2 separate regions of the Homo sapiens genome follow, and region 1 is linked to region 2. The links are contacts of gene promoters, found by promoter capture Hi-C in blood cells and fetal thymus (Javierre and others, 2016). All regions are on one chromosome and are shown on one strand. The core of a region is centred on a gene start or on the middle of the fragment in contact, and the rest is flanking DNA. Distances in the headings are between cores, read along the strand shown. Region 1 overlaps CAB39L (calcium binding protein 39 like). Region 2 holds the start of RCBTB1 (RCC1 and BTB domain containing protein 1).

Evidence for each region. Contacts are between HindIII fragments. The CHiCAGO score rates a contact against its expected background, and 5 or more counts as called.
Region 1: a fragment that was not itself captured here is called in contact with the fragment with the promoter of RCBTB1 in region 2 in 5 of 17 cell types (endothelial precursors, megakaryocytes, total CD8 T cells and 2 more); the score reaches 8.7 in endothelial precursors.

Annotation. Positions count from the first base shown.
Region 1 is chr13:49,311,162-49,315,382 of GRCh38, reverse strand. All of the region lies in intron 10 of CAB39L (calcium binding protein 39 like), which reads left to right. Among named protein-coding and RNA genes, the nearest start is that of CDADC1, 65 kb to the right of the region's middle. RefSeq lists an enhancer at 227-1,426. The HindIII fragment of the contact is 1,448 bases long and covers 2,207-3,654 here.
Region 2 is chr13:49,583,399-49,587,878 of GRCh38, reverse strand. RCBTB1 (RCC1 and BTB domain containing protein 1) reads left to right here and starts at 2,321. Exons shown (of 13, transcript NM_018191.4): 1 at 2,321-2,435. RefSeq lists a silencer at 2,088-2,797. The HindIII fragment of the contact is 4,185 bases long and covers 1-3,706 here.

The sequences.
Region 1 (4,221 bases), core at 1,681-4,180, 270 kb after region 2:
ATGGCTGTAGACCCACCAAGCAGAAGCTTAGGAAACCCTTTTCCTTCTCTGTTATGGGTCCCCTGGCCTGGCTGAGCGGTGGGCTCACTGTAAGTAAGCCATGTGGGCTGCCAAGAGACTGTCTCATCATGAGCCACTCGTGACCACAGGGACGTGCAGTGTTCCCAGAGAGGGTTCTGTATTCCTTAGCACTTGCTGTGTGAGTGAGTCCATGACCTTTGATGGAAAGAACAGAAACATGAAGAATTTATATATCATATTTATGAACAATTTCAGAACTAAATTGGCCAAATGAACTGAGTATCAGATTTGTGGGCTTTGATTTCTAGTTCTGAACCTCACCTGGTAAAATGTCACATCTCATCAGTTCTCAGAACAAGCATCCTGGGATTAATCTCAGCTTCAGCCCTTGCTAGTTCTGTGAGCCTGGCAAAAGCAATTTTGCAACAATGTATGTGTTCTACTCCATGCATTTGAATGGTGCATGCTGTGTGCCATGTACCATTTGAATGCATGGAGTAGAATACATATACTGTTCTCATTAAGCCTCACAGTTACCTAATGGCACTCAGGTACTGTTATCATCCCCATTTTTCAGATGAAGAAACTGAGGTACAGAGAGGTAAACAAGTTTTGTGAAATCATAAAGCTAATAAGAGATGGTGCTAGGATTTGGGCCCAGGCTGTGTGCTTCTGAATCTGCGCTGTTAACCATACTACTATGTGGTCAAGTTTATTAATATGACTCAGCCTGTTTCCTTATTAACAGATGAGGATAACAGCTCTTATACTTCAGGGCTGTTGTGAGGGTTAAGTGTTCGATGAGTGTGAAACACTTAGCCCCATGAATGAAGACAACCAGCTGGGAGGGCTATGAACTGGCTGCCCACGGTCGTGTGTACAGTTGACCAGAATTAGGGTGATGGGGCAGTGACGAGGCCTTGAATTCAGTTCAGGCACTTTGCCTCCAGCAAGCACGACTCCCCACATACAGTGACAACAGAAGGCTTTCAGGAGACTTACTTGTGCTGAAGCTGCTGATGTTCTCCAGCACATTCTCCCCACCCAGACAGGCAGAGGTCCTTTTATTTCTAGATAACAAAACTTTGCTGGTGGACACACTGCTAACATGTAGGAGAGGTGGAATTTGAACCCAGGTTCCAGAGCCGGCGCCGCCTTAGCTCCCACGTTCCCTTACTCATTCTTACTGTTGCTCCCACGTCCTGTCCCGCCCACCTCAGAGCCTGCAGTGGGACAATTCAGTATTCCTGGAATGCTGCTTTTCTTACCACCACGTGTAAACATTCTCTGCCTGACTCATGGACTAGCTCTCATGCCGCCCACACCATGAGCCTTCCTGTTCCAAACCCGGAAATGTAATGTCATCGCCACCTCCTGGGATGGGAGCCTCTGCAGTCTTGTATTCTCCACATTGGTACTCAACATCCTAGGGTAGTTTTCTCCTTCCCCACACTTGCTAGGGTGGAGGAACCTTAAAGGCTTAGCCATGAAACCCCCACTGCCCCATAACTAAGCCCTTTCATAGTGTGTTCCCTGTAGAGTTGGGCACTGCACAGCTATGGGACAGGGATGGGTGGGCAGAGGGGGTGCCAGGCAGAGGCAGGAGGCCAGACCATCACACCAGAGAGCTCTGTAGGGCTCAGAGACACTTTGATCTGCATTCTGGTCATGTGGTCATGTATGTAGCAGTAACTAAGGAGTGTGTCTTTTACAAAATAGTGCACCAGTCAGTATCAGATCGTGGTTTCCACCAGGAGTTCACATAAGAATCTCTGTGGAACTTCATAGAAATACAGAATGCTAGACATCCACCACAGACCTGCTGAGTTGACGTATCTGGGAGGTAGGACCTGGGCAGTTGTAATTTTTTTTTTTTTTTTTGAGACGGAGTCTCACTCTGTTGCCCAGGCTAGAGTGCAGTGGCGCGATCTCAGCTCACTGCAAGCTTCGCCTCCTGGGTTCACGCCATTCTCCTGCCACAGCCTCCCGAGTAGCTGGGACTACAGGCGCCCGCCACCACGCCTGGCTAATTTTTTGTATTTTTAGTAGAGATGGGATTTCACCGTGTTAGCCAGGATGGTCTCGATCTCCTGACTTCGTGATCCGCCCACCTCGGCCTCCCAAAGTACTAGGATTACAGGCATGAGCCACCGCGCCTGGCCCAGCAGTTGTAATTTTTAAAGCTTCACATATGTAACAAACAGTGACATTGGTGACCTCCAGGGAGGGAAGGTGAGAGGAGGACTATTCACGTTTGTCCTTTTTGAATTTTGAACTAGGTGATGATATTATGTGTTCAAAAAATAAATTATGTTTAAAAATCATAAGCTCTTTCATACTATATGTTGTTTATGTTTAAATATCTATGTAATAGGAGGATAAGGATTGAAATGTGCCCAGAGATGGTGGCACACTGCTGGAGGTGGGAGGGGAAAGGTGGAAGGTGAGGGTTTGGTTCCATTTGTAATGTTTTATTTGTTTAAAAAGAGACTCTTGAGGCACAATGGTAAAATCTATTCAATTTGTGAGGTACGTATACTGGATTTGTTATGTTATTTTCTGTTTGAAAGATTTTATAGTTAAGAACAAATATTTAAAAGTAAAACAAAGTCAAATATGAAATGTTCATAGATAGCTCCCACGTGCTCCTAGCTAGTGACTTAGGAGAGTGATAGGAAAGGTGAAGTGCAGGCCTGTGGCGCTTAACAGCAGGGAGTTGTTCTGAGAAACATGCTCACTAGGCGATGTCCTTTGTGTGGGAACATCACAGAGTGCATTTACGCAGACCTAGGTGGTGGAGCCTGCCACACACCTAGGCTATATAGTGTGGGCTATTGCGCCTAGAGCACAAACCTGTGCAGCATGTTACCATACTGAATACTGCAGGCAATTATAACCCAATGGTATTTGGGTATCTAAACATAGAAAAGATACAGTAACAAGATGGCATAAAAGAGAAAAAATGGTACACCTGTATAGGGAACTTACCATAAATGGAGCTTACAGGACTGGCAGTTGCTCTGGGGGAGTCAGGGATTGAATGGTGAGTGAATGCGAAGGCCTAGGACATTACCGTACACTACTGTAGACTTCATAAACACTGCTTAGACTACACTAAATTGATTTAAAAAATTTTTTTTCTTGTTTTAATAATAAGTTAACCTTAGGGCCAGGCATGGTGGCTCATGCCTGTAATCCCACAGCTTTGGGAGGCCAAGGTGGAAGGATTGTTTGAAACCAGGAATTCGAGACCAGCCTTGGCAGTCATAGTCAGGCCTGCCTCTACGAAAAACTTTTTAAATTAGCCAGGTGCAGTGGCATGCACTTGTAGTCCTAGCCACTGGGGAAGCTGAGGCGGGAGGATCGCTTGAGCCCAGGAGTTCCAGTCTGCAGTGAGCTCTGATAGTGCCACTGCACGTCAGCCTGGGTGACAGAGCGAGACCCTGTCTCAAAAATAAATAAATACATACATAAAAATAACCTTAGCTTACTGTAACTTTTTACTTTTATAAAAAGTTTATTTTTTAATTTTTTAAAACTTTTTTACTCTTTTGCAATAACACAGCTTAAAACAAACACATTATACAGCTGTACAAAAACATTTTCTTTCTTTATATCCTTATTCTATAAGCTTTTTCTGTGCTTAAAGTTTTTTATTTTTTACTTTTTAAACTTCTTTGTTAAAAACTAAGACATAAACACTCACATTAGCCTCGGCCTACACAGGGTCAGGATCATCAGTATCACTGCTTCCACCTCCACATCTTGTCCCCCTGGAAAGTCTGCAGGGGCCATAACACCCATGGAGGTGTCACCTCCTACGATAACAGTGCCTTCTTCTGGATACCTCCTGAGGGACCTGCCTGAGGCTGTTTTACAGTTAACTTTTTGTTTACTAAGTAGAAGGCATATACTCTAAAATAATGATTAGACGTATAGTATAGTAAATACGTAAACCAGTACCATCGTCGTTGATTATCAAGTATTATGCACTGTGCATAATTGTACGGGCTTGAATTTTATGCAGCTGGCCGGGCAGTAGGTTTGTTTACACCAGCATCACCACAGACACATGAGTAAATGCACTGACCTACGATATCACAAGGCAATGGGAATTTTTCAGCTCCATTATGGTGCTATGGGATTACAGTCGTATACATGGTCTGTTGTTGACTGAAATGTCGTTATGTGGTGTGTGAC
Region 2 (4,480 bases), core at 1,072-3,571:
GCCTCTCAAGTAGCTGGGATTACAGGCACGTGCCACCACAGCTGGCTAATTTTTGTATTTCTAGTAGAGACAGGGTTTTCCAAAGTTGGCCAGGCTGGTCTTGAACTCTTGACCTCAAGTGATTTGCCTGCCTTGGCCTGGGATTACAGGCATGAGCCACTGCACCTACCTGTTTGTTTTTTCCTAAACAAATAGTACTGTTTCATGTGTCACTACTTTTGAACACATTGCTCTCTCCTGGAATGTCTTTTTCTTTCTTCTTATCTACTTCCTGTCCAACTGACCTTCTCATGAAGTTTCTCCCTGACTCCCTGATTTGTGGTCCCTGGTTTGTGTTCACTTAGCACCTTGTATCATAATACTTTTCACCCTGTACTGGAATAATGAACCAGACTACACATTCCTTATCAGCAACCATGTCTCATTCAGCTTTTAATCCTCCAAGATGCTCCAAGTATGGCATCTGACACATAAGCAGTGAGGGCTCAGGACATATTTGATTGCTCACACCCCATGCCCTCGTTTTTCTCTCAGACATGTTTACACAAGTTCTTTTGATCGGGTTGCAACCAAAAGAAACTGATTTTAGTTTCTTTGAGCAAAACAGGCCTCTTCTAGTAAATTCACTCAACTGCCACTACTTTGGGCAAGCCACTTCATTCAGTGAGTATTAAGGGTCTATCACATGCCAGGCGCTGTTCTAAACCCAGAAGAATCCTGTTTCAAAGAGTTTATAATCTAAGGGAGAAGACAGCAATAGACAATTCACCTTTTACAGGAAATGCGCAGTCTATTTCTGGGCAGTGTGAGGTGTATCAGAATATATATAGTATTCTGGAAATCAGGGAAGAAGTTGCAGCTGACACTGTCTGGATGAACTTCAATTGCTAAAAAATCAGGGAAGAGGATGCTGGGAAGACAAGAGTAGGCGGCATTTGACCTGGATTTTGAAAGATGAGTAGGAAACTGATGTGTACTTTGGAGGCTGTTGAAGAAAACCAGAGCCAAACAGTAGTTGAAGTGGTAAAAACATTTTATTCAGGAACTAGTGCAACAGGAGCGAGACCTCAGAATAGATACAGAACTAAGCTCAATTCTCTTATTGCATTAGTTTCTTAATACCTTTTTTTTTTTTTTTAATCATTGGCCCTGGTTTTCTTTAAGTGGGGGAGGTGGTGATTCAGGACATTTCAGATACAGACAAAAGAATGAACAAAGCAAAAAGGAGTAAAGAAACTTAGAGAAAAAGTAAATAATCCAAAGAAAGTTGAGTAGTCAAGGAAAACAAATTATTTGTAGCCAGAGCCTCCAGTAATGTTGGGGAAGTGGCAAGAGATGAGGGACGGTAGGACTTTTTTAATAATTCAAGTTACCAAAAGTGAAGTTATCTGGTGATATTTAGAAAATGAAATGTTTTTCTGTTTATTCCTAGGAGCTCAAATGGGAAAGGTAAGTGAACAAGTGGCTGGAATGCTATGCCAACAAGTTTGGATTTTATCCTGCAGCGCCAACTGGGAGTTCTCCGAGAGCTGTATGGTATTTTACAAAGGGACTGTAGTCTTTATAGGTGATAGGCTGGAGCAGCTCGTAGCAGTCCCTCTCCTGGCCTCAGTTTACTCGCTGGTAACACGAATCCGGTTGGACCAGATGCCCTCTTAGGTCCCGTCTAACCTCTATGGCATGCTTCCGAGGTACCTCTGCCTCTTTCCAATACCAGGACCTGTGCCTCATCTCGTCCTTCCTTCATACCTTTGTCCAGCTGCCACCTTCCCTAGTCCCTGGCCTGCCTCAGGTACTTTCAATCAGGAAGTGAGGGGCGGGGAGGGAGGGAGGCGCGTCTCCAGTAAAAACAAACTAGTCCCAGCTCCGCCGCCTTTCCTCCCAGGCAGCACCACCTGGGTGGTGCCCCGGGGCCAGACGCGCTCTAGAGTGGGCAGGGAGCCAAGTTTCTCGGTCGCTTTTCCGTCCTAGGTCTCTGGGGTGGTAGGCCGACCCTCCCCACAGCCAAGCCATCTCGGGGAGCAGAGCAGGAGCCCGTGCCTCGCGCGTTCCTGGTTCCTCAGACACAAAAGCCTCTAAGTCCCGGCAGCAGCCACCGGATTTCATGGGGACACTCCAGTGGCAGGGCCTCGGGGCGGGCCTGAGACGGCCAATCGGCTTCTAAAGAAGTCGGGTTGTAGGGCCCGAAGAGCAGGGTTTCGGCCGGGGCCGGGGCCGGGGCGGTGCGGGATGCTCGGCTGGGTAGCGTCCCGGGCGCGCGCTGCACCGGGTCACGTGAGGCGGCCGGGGCCACGTGACCCGGCGGGCCCGGCGCCCTGGCGCTCCTCCTCTTCGCTGCCGGTGGGCACCGCCGCTCGCTCGCACTTCTGCGCCCATTGGAGCTTCGGAGATCCCTGCGGTCCCGCGGGACGGCGCGGCAGCAGCTGACCTCGCAGGTAGCGTGTGGGCGCGGGGTCGAGCTCGCGGAGGCCTCTTCCCCCTCGGCCCTGCCCCTGCTTCCCTTCCCCGCAGGCCGGGCCGGGAGTGCCCCGTTACTCCTGTACCTCCCGCCTCCCTCGCTCGGGCTCCCGGGCAGTCCCTGCGGGCGCTGCGTCCGGGGCGAGGGATGGGGTCCCCGGCCCGGCCCCGCCAGCACCTCAGCTAATGTGCTCTCCTGCGAGGAGGAGGGAAGGATGGGGAGAGGCGAGGGAAAGTTTTCCCTGCCTCCCTCTCTTTTTTGAGGTGCACGGACTCGATTTTGCTCGTAGCTGAAGTCTGACTGCTGTGGGTGCCGTTTTACTGAGAGGAGATCTCCCCTCCGACTCTTCCTATTCTCTCTCCTTTCCAAGATCTTAGCATCTCTCCTTCGTCTCCTGAGAGTAGTGCTGTCACAAACCGTATTCTTTATCGTTTCCCTTTCCGACACAGAATCCACAAAGGCAGGGATTTTGTTAGTGAGGACTTTTATCCAGGCGTGCGGTGAACTCTAAATAAGTGACGTTTCCCTTGTCTGCCTCTGATAAAGTACCTACCTGCTCGGTTTAAGATGACTATCGAGCACGCTGTGTTCTGCTCGCATAAGTGGCCTTTTGTTTTTATTTATTTGCATGTAAGACACTTTCAAGCCATCTGCGGAACTCTGCAGCTGGGGATTACAATTTTATAAAGCAGTCTTGTAATAATGCTTTTAGAAAACCAGATTCATGATCTTCCTTGCTTTTGCCCTATTCTTTTTTTGGGAGGACTAAAAGCCCTTAGAGGACAAAAACTGAGTTTCTGAAACTGGTGTGTATTGTGGGCTAATAACATTAAAACATCAAAGTATATAATGCCGGAAGGAATGGAAAAATGATTGAATCCTGAGGGCAGTTTATAGGTGCTTTAAACTTTAGAGTACTCATTTCAAGTGAGCACTGGGTGAATTTCACCCGTTTAAACTGCTTTCAGGGTCGAGGATGTAACTGTATATTTGGATTCTATTAATATAACAGTTCATCTGTGGGATGGACTTTAATCCATTTAATCCATTGTGTGAATATCAGTCTATTTATTAATACTCTAGACGGGTCCTTTTTCTTCTACCCGCTAGTCTGTTTCTCTTGAAGAGGAAGCATATTCATCTTTAAAGAGATTTTTGCAAGTGATTTTTTTAAGTGTGTGATCCAAATGATAAAGTTCTGTGAACTTCAGAAAACAAGTAGCCATAAAAACCCAAAGCTGTCAAGCTTGTAGCTTTTAAAAAATGATTTGAAAATTTTAAAGCGTGCCCGTATGCTGCAGCAAGAACTTGGCTCCACCTAATATACGGGAGCTGGGAAGTCTGAAACAGTACCCTCCTTTTCCTGGGAGTCATTGTGGGGTAGATGAAACTGTGAAGGAAAGTGAGGACCTTTATTATGATGATGATATCCCTTCTGTGTGTACTACATTAAACAGTAAGTCATGCATAGGAAAGGAGGCTGGGGCCTCACAGAGTCTAGAATCTAGGCAGGGCATTCGGACACATTTCAAAATATTCTCTGGTTTTACAAAAAGTTAAAAATGTTACATATTGGCCAGGCGCAGTGGCTTACATCTGTAATCCCAGCATTTTGGGAGATTGAGGCGACAGATTACACGAGGCCAGGAGTTCAAGACCAGCTTGGCCAACATGGTGAAACCCCGTCTCTACTAAAAATACAAAAAATTAGCTGGGCGTGGTGGTGTGCGCCTGTAGTCCCAGCTACTCAGGAGGCTGAGGTACGAGAATTACCTGACCTGGGGAGGCAGAGGTTGCAGTGAGCCGAGATTGTGCCACTGCACTCCAGCCTGGGCGACACAGTGAGACTCCATCTCAAAAAAAAAAAGTACATGTTGTGTACGTGCTGAAGAATGCACAAGAGGGGTATGATGAGTGTTGTCTGAATTTAGCCAGAATAGACTTAGTAGAGGAGATCAGTTAATGAAATAATTATATAAGTCAACTGTGTGTTAGATCACATTTAAAACACACACACACACA